Regions from separate parts of the Homo sapiens genome. Here all the other regions are linked to region 2. The links are contacts of gene promoters, found by promoter capture Hi-C in human tissues and cell types (Jung and others, 2019). All regions are on one chromosome and are shown on one strand. Each heading gives the region's core, a stretch centred on a gene start or on the middle of the fragment in contact. The rest is flanking DNA. Distances are from core to core; before and after follow the strand shown. Region 1 overlaps LOC124906290 (a long non-coding RNA gene). Region 2 holds the start of FOXL2 (forkhead box L2). Region 3 has its middle 19 kb from the start of PISRT1. Region 4 overlaps PIK3CB (phosphatidylinositol-4,5-bisphosphate 3-kinase catalytic subunit beta).

The links. Contacts are between HindIII fragments. The study calls those that stand out against the background at their distance.
Region 1: a fragment that was not itself captured here is called in contact with the fragment with the promoter of FOXL2 in region 2 in 2 of the 25 tissues and cell types used here (H1 embryonic stem cells and IMR-90 fibroblasts).
Region 3: a fragment that was not itself captured here is called in contact with the fragment with the promoter of FOXL2 in region 2 in 2 of the 25 tissues and cell types used here (aorta and pancreas).
Region 4: a contact is called between a fragment that was not itself captured here and the fragment with the promoter of FOXL2 in region 2, in 1 of the 25 tissues and cell types used here (dorsolateral prefrontal cortex).

What each region holds. Positions count from the first base shown.
Region 1 is chr3:139,287,732-139,290,677 of GRCh38, forward strand. LOC124906290 (a long non-coding RNA gene) reads left to right here. Exons shown (of 2, transcript XR_007096115.1): 2 at 1-2,946. Among named protein-coding and RNA genes, the nearest start is that of MRPS22, 55 kb to the right of the region's middle. RefSeq lists a silencer at 1,501-1,729. The HindIII fragment of the contact is 4,701 bases long and covers 1-2,946 here.
Region 2 is chr3:138,945,244-138,948,394 of GRCh38, forward strand. FOXL2 (forkhead box L2) reads right to left here and starts at 1,894. Exons shown (of 1, transcript NM_023067.4): 1 at 1-1,894. The coding sequence starts at 1,479. The coding sequence ends at 349. It overlaps FOXL2NB (FOXL2 neighbor), which reads left to right and starts at 1,974. Exons shown (of 3, transcript NM_001040061.3): 1 at 1,974-2,221. The coding sequence starts at 2,122. RefSeq lists a silencer at 1,910-2,138. The HindIII fragment of the contact is 6,167 bases long and covers 1-3,151 here.
Region 3 is chr3:139,250,870-139,254,073 of GRCh38, forward strand. No RefSeq gene overlaps it. Among named protein-coding and RNA genes, the nearest start is that of PISRT1, 19 kb to the left of the region's middle. The HindIII fragment of the contact is 9,789 bases long and covers 1-3,204 here.
Region 4 is chr3:138,680,916-138,683,807 of GRCh38, forward strand. It overlaps PIK3CB (phosphatidylinositol-4,5-bisphosphate 3-kinase catalytic subunit beta), which reads right to left. Exons shown (of 24, transcript NM_006219.3): 18 at 2,763-2,872; 19 at 1,052-1,130. Among named protein-coding and RNA genes, the nearest start is that of FAIM, 74 kb to the left of the region's middle. The HindIII fragment of the contact is 7,556 bases long and covers 1-2,892 here.

The sequences.
Region 1 (2,946 bases), core at 437-2,936, 340 kb after region 2:
AGAGTCCAAGCACCCCAAGTCACCCACTGGGCAGTAGCAGAATTAGGATTTGAACCCGAGCAGCCTGGTCCCAGAGCCCATGTGCTGGAGCTACAATACCGATCCCTCTGGACAGACAGGTAAACGATGGTTGACCATGGGATCAGTTCAGAGCCTGGAGCAATCCCTGTGCGTGAAAGGCTCAGTGAGGACCTGGGCATGCTGTGGGCAGGGCTGCCTCTGTCCTGATGCTCCTAGCGCAGGCCAGGGTTCCTCTCTCTTCCCCACTGCTGGGCCCTGCCAGGCAGAGGGCTGGATGTGCCCCAAGAGGAGAACAAAACCCTGAGGAACAAGACTGAGCCCCCATGTTAGTTCAGTCCAATCTGATAGCATCAGAAGCACTAAGATGTTGGCTTGGCTCCTTCTACTTTTTTTCTTTTAAAGCTGTTTCAGAATTTCCTTTGCCCATATTTTATTTTTCATTTGAAAGAACTCCTCCCTGCTCCTGCAATCCACCTGGCTATATAATTCCTGGACTGAACATATTCTTACTTATGTGAGTATATGTGTGTGAACCTGAGGGTGCACTGGGGCCTGTGGACACATGGGGGTGCCTGTGTGTCTTTGCAGGCATCTGTGGTGTGCAGAGTGCCCACATGTGCCTGGGTGCATGCAGGCTCGGGTATACACACTTGGGGGTCTGAGTAGATGCTGCCTTGCTCCTGGATGGGCACTGACCCCTGACTGTGAACAGATGTGCTTCACAAGACCAGGCAGGGATTGCAGCTGTGTGGCTGCCAGAAGGCGGCCAGTTGTGGGGCTCAGAAAGGAGCCTGGAGCACCTTGACCCAGCAGAGGAGCACCTTACCCTCGGTGCTGCTGCCGGCCGGCTGGCCAGGACGGCTGCCTCTCCCAGTCTGTAATGCTGTGCTGTGGGGTGTGGGGGAGATAAGGTTGCCAAGCTGTTTATCAAGCCCTTTGAAACGATCTGGGGCTGCTGGCCAGGCCAGCAGAGGAAGCAGCACTTTATGGGCCTGACTCTGTGGTGACCTCACCACTCGGTCCTCTCTGCTCTTCTCCTGTGCCTCTCTGTCTTCCACTGTCCCATCCCCACGATGGAGCTGACTAAAAAAGGAGGTGCCCTACTCCTCATTCACTCACCTTATGGGGGAAGGAATAGCCCCTGGAGGGAGAGGGGGAGGAAGAGAGTAGTGGGAGCGCCTCTGCGTCCCTAGGCAGGTGTGGGCTGGAGTAGGAGGGAGGGAAGCAACGATGGTCTGTCAAGGTCCTGGCTTTGCTCCGCTCTGTGGTGACAGGGCAGGCCTGGTTTCCCTCCCAGCCCAAGAAGGACCCCAAAGTGAAGACAGAAATGACAGAAAGCAAGAGGACATGGTTAGGACATTCCCTATGTCGGCCCATCCATTTATGCCCAGGGCCTAGCACAGCCTTTGGCACATGGCAGGCACTAAAGACTATTTGATAAATATTGCTGAATGAAGAAGGAAAGAGCTGGAAGCTTGTTGGAGAATAAGGAGATGAAGAAGATGAAGGCAGAGAAATGGCCAGAGGGAGAAGCCAGGAGCCCAGCATTTGCAGGCCCTGAGATGCTACCCAGGGAAGCCAGTGATGGGGAGGCAGAGAGGGAGAGAAGGGAGAAAAGATAAAACAACAGTGGGCAGTGAGCAAGAAAATGGAAGAGGGAAATTTGCCCTCAGGTCTGGAGGCCTGGATTCTTTGGTGGGGGTGGGCTGTGTCCTCAAAGGAGAAAACCAGGTTCCTCCCATGTAGCTTCAGAGAAGTGTATCAAATCCGGTGGGGTTAGGGTGTGGGATTGGGACAGTGGCAGGCATCTGGATATGAAGGCCAGGCCTGCTCTGAGAAGAGAAGGTCTGTGCAGAGCAGGGTGCCTCATCATTATGTCACCCCATCATTGTCACCACATGTCTGCCATGGGGGTCCTGCCCGTCCATTCCTGCAGCGAGAGAAACAAGTTGAGGCTTTCAAAGGGGTTAGGGGGATAAGGGGAGGACACAGAGATGGGAAGGGACCCAGATGTGCCTGATGTCAGAGCCCAGGGGTTAGAAAGGGCAGGAAGGCTTCTTGGAAGAGGTGGAATTTGACCAGCTGAGATTTTAGTGACAGTAAATTGCATTATCTGGAAGCACCAGTTGGAGAAAATGAAGCCCCCTGTCTTTTCTTAGTCATGAGAGACATCCTGTCTTGGGCTGCTACGGCTGCCAGCCTGCATTAAGCTGCCTTTGGGCCCCCTGTGTGGAGCAGGAAAAATTAGAGCCAATCAATGCGATTTCAAGGCAGCAGCTCCTTCCCAGCAGCCCGTGGCCATGCCTGTTAACCAGCCCGCAGCCCCAATGGCCTGATACCACAAGCAAATGGCCCCTAATGGGGACCAGACCTCCTTTTGCCCTCCCACCTCCCTGCCTGTGTGTCTTTATGCCTGCGTGCTGAGCTGAGATCGTTGCTCCTGGGGCCCCTGTCCTGCCTAAGGGCCCAGGACCTACTGGGCTAGGCTAGGGGGTGGGGTGGGGGCAAAGTGGGGAAAAGAGCCCTGCAAATGGCCCCTATCCAGCAGGGAGCTGGACAGCTCCAGCCTGTAGGGTGGGCATGGCAGGGCTCAGCTTGGCCCCAGGCAGCTGCAACCAGGTCATCTGACCACTTTAACCCTACATCTCACTCTGCCCATTGGAAGATCTGGGTATTCTCTACCCACCCTTTGCCAAAGACAGCCTAGGGAGGCTGGATGCTGGGCCTGCTAGAATCTTCAGTGTGTGTTGCTCCTGACCAGGCCTTCCTCCTAAACTCCATTTTCCTGGCCTTGACTTGGGCCCTCATTGGCTGTCACCTGGGATTCTGCTTTTAAGCCCTCTGCCTCCTGCCCCCCTCCACCCTGCCGCTGCCAGGAGGCTTTCTAAAATACATCTGATGGGGTTACTTCCCTGCTTCACCATC
Region 2 (3,151 bases), core at 644-3,143:
CACCTCCGCCCCGGGCCCTTTCCGCGGTGAATTTGGGCAGGAGACGCTGGGGCTCCGGAAAGAGACGAGCCCAGTAGAAAGCGCGCAGAGAGGCAGCTTCAGGCCAGGGGAGTGCAAGGTCACAGAGGTCAGGGAGGTGAGCACAGGAGGACATAAACTGAGGGGACAAAGAGGAGCGACAGGAGCTTAGGAAAGCGAAAAAGCACAGAGGGACCCTGGGCGCTGGCTCCAGAGGCGGGCCCAGAGGGTGTGAGGTCAGGCTGGCGGCGGCGTCGTCGGCTGCGACCGGGGCCGGCGTCGCGCGTCCCTGCATCCTCGCATCCGTCTGCACCGGCATGCGGTGGGCTCTCAGAGATCGAGGCGCGAATGCAGCGCGCCGGTCTTGCTGTCGTGGTCCCAGTAAGAGCAATGCATCATGGCGAGCTCGGGCTGCCGGGCACAAGCGAACTGCAGGCCCGGCGCACTGGTGGGCGCGGGCGCCGGGGGCGCGGCGGTGGCTGGGCTGGCAGGGCTGAGCTGGCCCGGCGGCGGCGCGGCGGCCCCGTGGTGCGGTGGGGCAGGCGGCGGTGCGGCGGCCGCGTGCAGATGGTGTGCGTGCGGATGCGGGTGGGGGTGCGGCGGAGGCGGGGGTGCGGCCGGCGGGCCTCCCAGGCCATTGTACGAGTTCACTACGCCGGGGGGCAGCGCCATGCTCTGCACGCGTGTGTACGGCCCGTACGAGGCGGCCGGGCCCGCCAGCCCCTTGACCACAGCGGCCGCGCCAGGGCTACCGGGGCCCGCGGCTGCAGCCGCAGCTGCTGCAGCCGCTGCGGCTGCCGCCATCTGGCAGGAGGCATAGGGCATGGGTGAGGGAGGCTGCGGTAGCGGCCACGAGTTGTTGAGGAAGCCAGACTGCAGGTACTTGGGGGGCGCCAGGTAGCCGTAGCCGTCGGCCCCGGCGCCCGCCACGCCGCACCCGCCTGCGGCGCCTCCGGCCCCGAAGAGCCCCTTGCCGGGCTGGAAGTGCGCGGGCGGCGGCCGGAAGGGCCTCTTCATGCGGCGGCGGCGCCGGTAGTTGCCCTTCTCGAACATGTCTTCGCAGGCCGGGTCCAGCGTCCAGTAGTTGCCCTTGCGCTCGCCGCCGCCCTCGCGCGGCACCTTGATGAAGCACTCGTTGAGGCTGAGGTTGTGGCGGATGCTATTTTGCCAGCCCTTCTTATTCTTCTCGTAGAACGGGAACTTCGCGATGATGTACTGGTAGATGCCGGACAGCGTGAGCCTCTTCTCCGCGCTCTCGCGGATCGCCATGGCGATGAGCGCCACGTACGAGTACGGGGGCTTCTGCGCCGGGTCCGGCTTCTCCGGGGCTGTCCCGCCGCCACCCCCACCGCCCTTGCCTGGGCTCGGCGGCGGCCCTTCTGGCTCCTTGACTGTGCGACCGGTCTCTGGGGCCAGCAGGGCCCCCGCCGCGTCCTCGGGCTCGGGGTAGCTGGCCATCATGACAAAGCCGGCGCGCCGCGGCCGGGCCGCCTCTGCTCTCCGCTCCAGGCGCTGGCGCGGCAAAGAGTTGGGGCGCACGAGTCCGCTTACGGCCAAGTCTCAAACTTCTGGAGACTGCGGATGCCGCCCGCGCTTGCTTGCTGGAGGCCTGTCGCTGCTCTCCCCTCTCCTTCCCCTTCCCCTAGGGAGCGGCCGGCGGGAGTGGAGCTCAGCCTCTGGCCATGGGGAGTCCGCCCAACAGAGAGGGGCTCCGGCCTCGCCGCCCCTCCCCGCTCAGGCCAGTCCCCGCCTTGGTGGGTTTTCTTTTCTGCGCTCTTCCCCTCCCCCCGCCCCCCGGTTTCCCGAAGCACGACCCGCGTCTCTGGCGGAGCTGCCTCCTGGAGTCCCTAGTGCGCCAGGAGCCTCGCTCTGTTCTGATTCGTATGGGCTCCACCGAGTTCCGCTTGCGTCAGGCGCCTTCGCCCCTATAGCGGGGCGGCCAGCCGCGCACGGGCGAGTTCATCTCCAAGTCACTTTTTGTAAACGCCCCGCACAGCCTGGACCGGCCTGCCCCCGCCCAGCGAGCCTCAGGGGCCCAGCCGACAGCCAGGCTCACGCGCCCTTGAAATCTGCCGGTACTCGCTCTGCGGGCTGGGCTGGGAGATGACGAGGACCCCGGTGGGGTCTGCCCGCACCCGGCCAAAGCCCAGGAAGCTCGGGCCCCAGCGAGGAAAGGCGCTCCAAGCCTCCTCGCGGCTTTCAGGTGAAAGAAAACGACTCCTTTGCTCTGCCGTTTGCTGCCGTCTTGAGGCTGAACTTCTAGCTCGGGGCTGGGGAGGGGCGAGACGGCGAGGGGGCTGGACGGGGTAGGGTGGGGAGAGCTGCTCTGAGGCTTTGGGAAAGTCAGCCCAGAAACGGGTGTGACTGTACGAAGAAGCCTCGGCCTGGCCTGTCCCTCGCGCTCTCAGAGTGACTGGGCTGGAATGGGGCAGGGGAGAGGATCTCTGGAAATAGTCGTCAGGGGCGCCGCCTGAATCACCTCTGCCTCTCCCTGCGTTACCAGTGGATCTAGGAACCAGGAATCCGTGTACTAATCCTACGGGGTTGGAGTGAAGGTTGGATGTGTGCTTTAACAGCACCAAGTAGATGCCCCTCAGCTATTGCACTAACACAGGCGGGGCTGTTGCCCGGGACTTTGCGGGACTGTGTATGTGTGTGCACAGGGGTCACATATGGAAGTCATGGAGAGGAGCTGTCCTTGAGATGGGTGAGATACCAGGTGCATGTGTGCTGCTCAGAAACACAGGTATGCACATGTACAAGGTGTGAGATTTGTATTTACGAGGTAAAACACACTTATACTGATAGTTATGTAATATGTTCATCAAGTATTAGAGTAAATGTAGCTGGTGGATATAGCATCTTCTCTTTTTCTCCTTTCTTACTTCTTTCCTTCCCCCCTTTCTTCCTTTCTTTCACAATTCTTCGATGCCTCTTTCCCTCCCAGTGTATGTATTTTGCCACAGACTGGGAAGACAAACATCAGGCTGAGGGAGGGACTTGTTCAAATCTCTCTCCTGATGAGACATTTGTTCTGATCTTTCTCCAAAGAATCAGGAGTTAGTTGTCACCTACCTTAAGCAGAATTCTGATGGGAATCCAATTATTTCAGCATGTACAGAGATTGTTTCAG
Region 3 (3,204 bases), core at 84-2,583, 310 kb after region 2:
AAAAGGTCACTTTTTGTGGAGTGAGGCTCCTTCTCCCTACCCTGAGAAGAGCAGGAGCCTGGAACTCTGGAGGCCTCAGAAGCTCATGGGGGCAAAGCCTGTTGTCTGCAGCTGCCCAGACACATCTGAGCAGACCCACCAGATCTGTTCCAAGACAGCAGCTCTGCCAACTGTATCAGCTCTGTCCCACCACAGGCTTGGCCTCGGGGACCTTCTCTGCGGCTGGTAAGTATATAACACATAGTGTTCAAAGTTTGGACAGCCCTATGTGGCCACCCCATTTAGAGCCTTGTCACTTTTAGGGCTTTGTGCACCAGCAGGCATGGATCCTCTACCCATGGAATTCTGACCTCCCAGGCCCAGGATCTCTCTGCCTCCTCCTGCTCCCTGACCTCCTCTTCATCCTCCCTCTTCTCTGCTTCTCTATTTCCTCCTCTTGCTCCTCCCCTTCTTCTCCTTTTCCTTCTCTCTCCTCCTCCCTCCTTTTTCCTCCTCTCTCCTCCTCCCTCCTTCTTCCTCCTCCTCCCCTCTTTCTCCTCTCTACCTCTTTCTCTTCCCCAACTCCATTTCCTTCTCCTCGTCCAGCCCCGGCCTCCTCCTTACTCCTTGACTATCTCCATGGATGTAGACCTTTAGAAAGGAACCTCATTTGCAGTTGACTCCAGGCAACTTCTCTTTCTTCATTTTTCCTACTGTGAAACTAAAATCTCTAGGGAGTAGGAAGTCTAGAACTCAAAACCCTAAGGCCTGGCTACCTTGCCTATGAAAAGCAAAGGCAGAACTCCCTCGGTTCCTTTGCTGCTACTCTCACTGCAGCCGAGGTAGAGATAGGCACCCTTAGTTTCTCTTTCAGTTCTTTGCCATGCTACTGCTGCAATCGTTGCCTTGAGTGTGTACTTCTGATTGCCCAATCCCACCTCCCCATTGGCACAAGGCTGTTCCCAGCTGGGCCCAGGCCTGCCCCTTTGTCCATTGTAGTCTGACCCCTGTCCAGTCACTCAAGATAATGTCCTTTTCCTGCATCTGCCGCTTCATCTAGCCTCTTCTGGGGCTCTGAGGGTCTGTCCTGGCCCTGGTGAATATTCAGGGCATGCTGGTAAGGGGGAAAACAGGGGAAGAAGAGAAAAGAGGGACCAAGCTGAGTGAAGGGGGCCAGCTTGGGGACACCCCTCAGCCATGGGGCCTCTGTCCTTTCCTTCCAGGACTGAGAGATAGATAGCCCTGACAACTCTCGAGATGCTTGAGGAAGGCCTCTCATGTGGGTAGAGGAGGCATGTCCTTGTTTAGTGAAGTTCAGGGCCTGAGGCTGTTGACCCATCTGATGCCTGAAAATCTAACCCGAGATACTCAGTCCTTTGGGGTAAGGCCTGCCCTCTTAGACATAACCATCCTGAGAGGGGGGCGGACGAAGCTGTAAGCCCTCTTGAGGAGTAGAATATTATACTTCTGAGATTTCCACCAAGCCAGGGCACTGATGGGATCTGCAGAGGTGAAATGAGCCAGGGTTATGGCTCTGCACTTCAGAGACCTGAGGTGGTCAGAACTCTGGATCAGTAGTGAAGCCCTGGCTATTCATCTCCATGAATAACTGCCTGATGATCTTGGCTCTAGGGGTCTGTTCTGTGGCCACCCCCACTGGGAAGCAAGCCTCAGGGTTCCTTCTGACCCCAGGTCCTTGAACCTGTCTCAGCATAGACCATACTGTTGGTCCTTCCAGCTCACTCCACAGGGCACACAAGGACTCCTCAGAAGACTCAGGGGTGGTGGCTCTATTTACCATTTTATGCCCCCCAAGCCTGATGCAGGCTCTGGTCCCCAGTAGGTCAACAGGTGTTGGGGGGCTAAAGGAACTCAGCTGTGCACTGAGCCCTGAGCCATGGGAAACACAGAGTAGAAGCCCAAAGTGTGGTCCCCGGAACCAGGACAAGTGCCAGAGGGAGTGCCTTTTCACAGGTGTGGCCCTTTCAAAATGCTTGGCCTTCTTCCACCGGAGGCCAGCCCAGCCCCTCTTCTGGGGACAGCCCCGGCAGGGTCCATGGGAACATGAGGCTCCCGGCTGTTGTTTGTCTCAGCTAATCTCAAGAATGCACTTGTTTTCCCTTTTGGTTTGGGAAGTCCTCAGCAGCTCCCCTTCATGTCGATAGTGCTGAGGGTAGAGGCCGTGGGAGCCAGAGGGCAATGATCCTGGCTTGCTCTGTTGCTGGCTTGCTTTCTTTCCAACTGTTTCTGTTACCTCCGGCCTCCATTTCAGCTTCTCCTTGAAGTTTCTAGCAACCCTGGAAAGAAACGTTCTGAATTTCAACACTTCAGCCAGTCTCCTCACAGTAGGGAGTACTTGGGCAGGTGTGATCATCTCTATTTTACAGATGAACCTGGAGCTCAGAGAGGCTAAGTTAATGCTCATGGACACAGCAAGTGAGAGCAGAGCTGGAATAGAACCCAGCACCTCCCGCCGCCCACCCCGGCCCTCCACTCCAAGCTCCAACTCCAGGGCACCAATCTCACTTGGCAGCTACTGTCTGTTACTTGCCATCTCCTTCACTTGATTTCCTTGAGAGGAGTCCTGCAATATTCATCTTTGTACTCCTAAGCGTGGCCCAGTGTCCAGAAACATAGAAGATACTCAAAGGATATTTGTTCAAAGAATGAATGGCCTCTACTATGTGCCAGGAATTCTACTGGGTGATTTTTACACATGTAATCCTTGATCTTCACAACAACTCTGAGAGGTAGCTGTTGTCCCCATTTCATGAATGGAACCTCTAGGGTTCAGAGAAGTTAAGTAAGTTGGCAAAGATCATGGAGCTTGTAAAAGGTTGAGATGAGATTCGGATCCAAGTGGTTGGACTCCAGGACTCATGCTGGCTCCCAATGCACATGAGATAAAGCATCTGAAAAGAAAGGACAGTGGGCAGAAGAACTGCAGGGCCTTCCTTCTTGCTGATTTTGCAGTGATCTCTGACTGAGGGAGGTTGCAAAGGTTACCTGAGCTCCCTAAACAGGGAGACAATTCTCAGCCCCTCTCTGCACTCCGTCCAATCTCAAGCTCACAAACACATGTTTATTGAATGACTGAATGACCACCCCTGAAGTTGGCCATCCAGGCTCTTCACTCTCAGAGATGGTCTTTCTGGTTGCTCTTTCTTCACCAACTTTGGAGCCTGTCATTCTCTGCCCAACCTTGAATGCTAGGATTCCTAGGGC
Region 4 (2,892 bases), core at 359-2,858, 260 kb before region 2:
GACCTCAGGCAATCCACCTGCCTCGGCCTCCCAAAGGGCTAGGATTACAGGAGTGAGCCACCATGCACGGCCCAATTGTTCTTATAATCTGTACTTCTTAATTGGAACTGACAATTTTCATGTTAGTTTTTTTTTTGTTTTTTTTTTTTGAGACAGAGTCTCACTTTGTCATCCAGCCTGGAGTGTAGTGGTGCAATCTCTGTTCCCTGCAACCTCCACTTCCCGGGTTTAAGCGATTCTCATGCCTCAGCCACCAGAGTAGCTGGGAGTACGGGCATGTGCTCCACGCCTGGCTAACTTTTGTATTTTTAGAAGAGACAGGGTTTCACCATGTGGGCCAGGCTGGTCTCAAACTCCTGACCTCAAGTGATCTGCCCGCTTTGGTCTCCCAAAGTGCTGGGATTACAGGTGTGTGCCAACATGCCTATTAGTTTGTTTTTATACTTTTTATAAAATGCCTTTTCACATCTTTTCCTTATGTTCACTTCTATGGGCTCTTTAAATATTTACCCCTTGTTCTGTTCATTGTGAATACGATTCCCAGTCTGAGGCTTGATTTTATGTTTCCTTTTTTCTGTCACGACACCACAAACCTCTTCCGCTCACTATCTACCCCTATTGATGGTGGCAAACTAAAAACCTGAGAATGCACCTAAACATTTTCCTCTCTTTTCCCTTGGTAGGTAGAGAAATCAATGTCCCTGGACTAAGTATAAAAAGGCACAGGACTTTCTCTGGCCTTGTCATTGCCATGACCCACAGTACATCTTTCAACACCATAGGTTGGAATGTAATTCTGGCTGTCTGTCCAAACCTTATTAAAGTTCAAACCTATTCCTTCTTTCTGGAATTTCAGTAACATGTGTAGTTTTAAACTGAAAAAGTTTAGGCAAGACAACATATTTGAAAGTACATTCTAAAGTGCTATATAAATATTATTATGAACAACAACTAAAAATAAGAACAAGAGGGAAGGAATTAACAAGAAATTCTAGATATTTTTGCTATGGGAAGACATTAGACTGAAAAAAAAAAAAAGACTAGATCTCACCGAAGATCCAAACCAGCTTCTTTCCAGAGTAAATCCATCAAGCGCAACATTTGGAGTGTCAACATATCCTGTCGTAAATCTAAGGGAAAACAAACTGCTTCATTACAAGTGCTTTTCCTTTTATGCCCTGTAACTCATTAATTCAAGACTAACTCAGAATTAACTAAAAACATTAACAAACTCTGTGCTAATATTTTCACTAATTTTATAACAAATATTACACTCTTTGGATAGCATGTCCCTGTGACATTATTTCAGACATTAAATTAAAAGATTTTTTAAATTGTTTGCCATGTGTAAGTTACATCCTATTGAATATAAGCATAGCTTCGGAGAACTTTTAAGATTTTCCTTCCTTGATTATATTCTACCTCCCGAGGCTGACAGCTGGCCCTACTACTCCCATAAGGCAGTGACTTTCTGCTTGCTATTCACAGGAGATTCACTGCGCAAAGCACAGTCACTTACTAGAGGTCCGAGAGGATAACACATGGGTTCAGGGGTACTAATTGTATGCTGTAATACTGTTTGTATTACACTGTATGTGTATTACATTAATTACATGGTTAATTTTTTCCTTCTTGCTTGCTTTTACCACTATACGGAGAGTTCTTAAGAATCACGTAAGTAACTGCATCACGAGGTCACAAAACTGTAATGGTTCAATTTATTATCATGTCTAAGGGTATTTTCAGGGAAGAGAGCACATGAAACTAGTGACATCCACATAATGACATTTGTATGGTCAAGTGACATTAAATGTTTAGCAAAACCCTATGAGTTCTTTTTAAGTTGTAAGCACATATTCTGATAAGCACATTTGCTTATGTTATCTCAATTCCTTTTAATAACCCTGACATACAGATGCTATAATTCTCAAGGATATGAAAAACCTGAAGCTCAATCAGTTTTCTGTGCCTTGTTTGTAGTCACATAACTAACAAGTCACCACTGCCTATTGGCTGGTATGATTACTTCAGAGGCATTTCCTTTACACATTTTGGGTCTGTTAGGTACTTTCATCAAAATACAAAACTATGGCAGCAAAATCAATATTGCTATCACTGAAACAAGATGTATGAATATATTACTGAAAATATCCTTGCCTGGGCACGGTGGCTCATGCTTGTAATCCCAGCACTTTGAAAGGCCGGGGTGGGTAAATCACTTGAGCTCAGGAGTTCAATACCACCCTGGTCAACATGGTGAAACCCCATCTTTACAAAAAATACAAAAAGTGAACCAGGTGTGGTGGTGTGTGCCTGTAGTTCCAGCTACTCTGGGGGCTGAGGTAGGATGATCACTTGGGCCTGGGAGGTGGAGGTTTCAGTGAGCCAAGATCGTGCCATTGCACTCCAGGCTGGGTGACAGTGAGACCCTGTCTCAAAAAAAAAAAAAAAAAAGTAAAAATAATATCTTGTATTTCATAAGCTTTTTAATCAAAGGAGTAGGCGCGTTTTGTATTTTGTAGGGGGAAATAAAAGAAGGTTCATTAGGACAGTATATTTAAGTGAATGGTATAAATCATTTTATAAGAGGGGGAAAAAAAAAGCATTTAGGACATGTTCAACTTGACTTTAGGACCATTAATAGCTACCTTCCTGGCTGCAAATTGTTACACACTTACACTACACATCACCTTTCAGATAAAGCAAAATGGCAACAAATGAAAAATTCTAAGAAATTTGATGTTAAAAATCTCAGTACTTACCATCACCATTTTTAAAAATCACTCCAACTGAATCCTCACCAAATACCTTGTTATTGTATACCAGCCACAAAGGCTTCATTTTGGAATCCATGTATTTGCACTTTTCAACACTGAAATCAAGTGGGGAAAA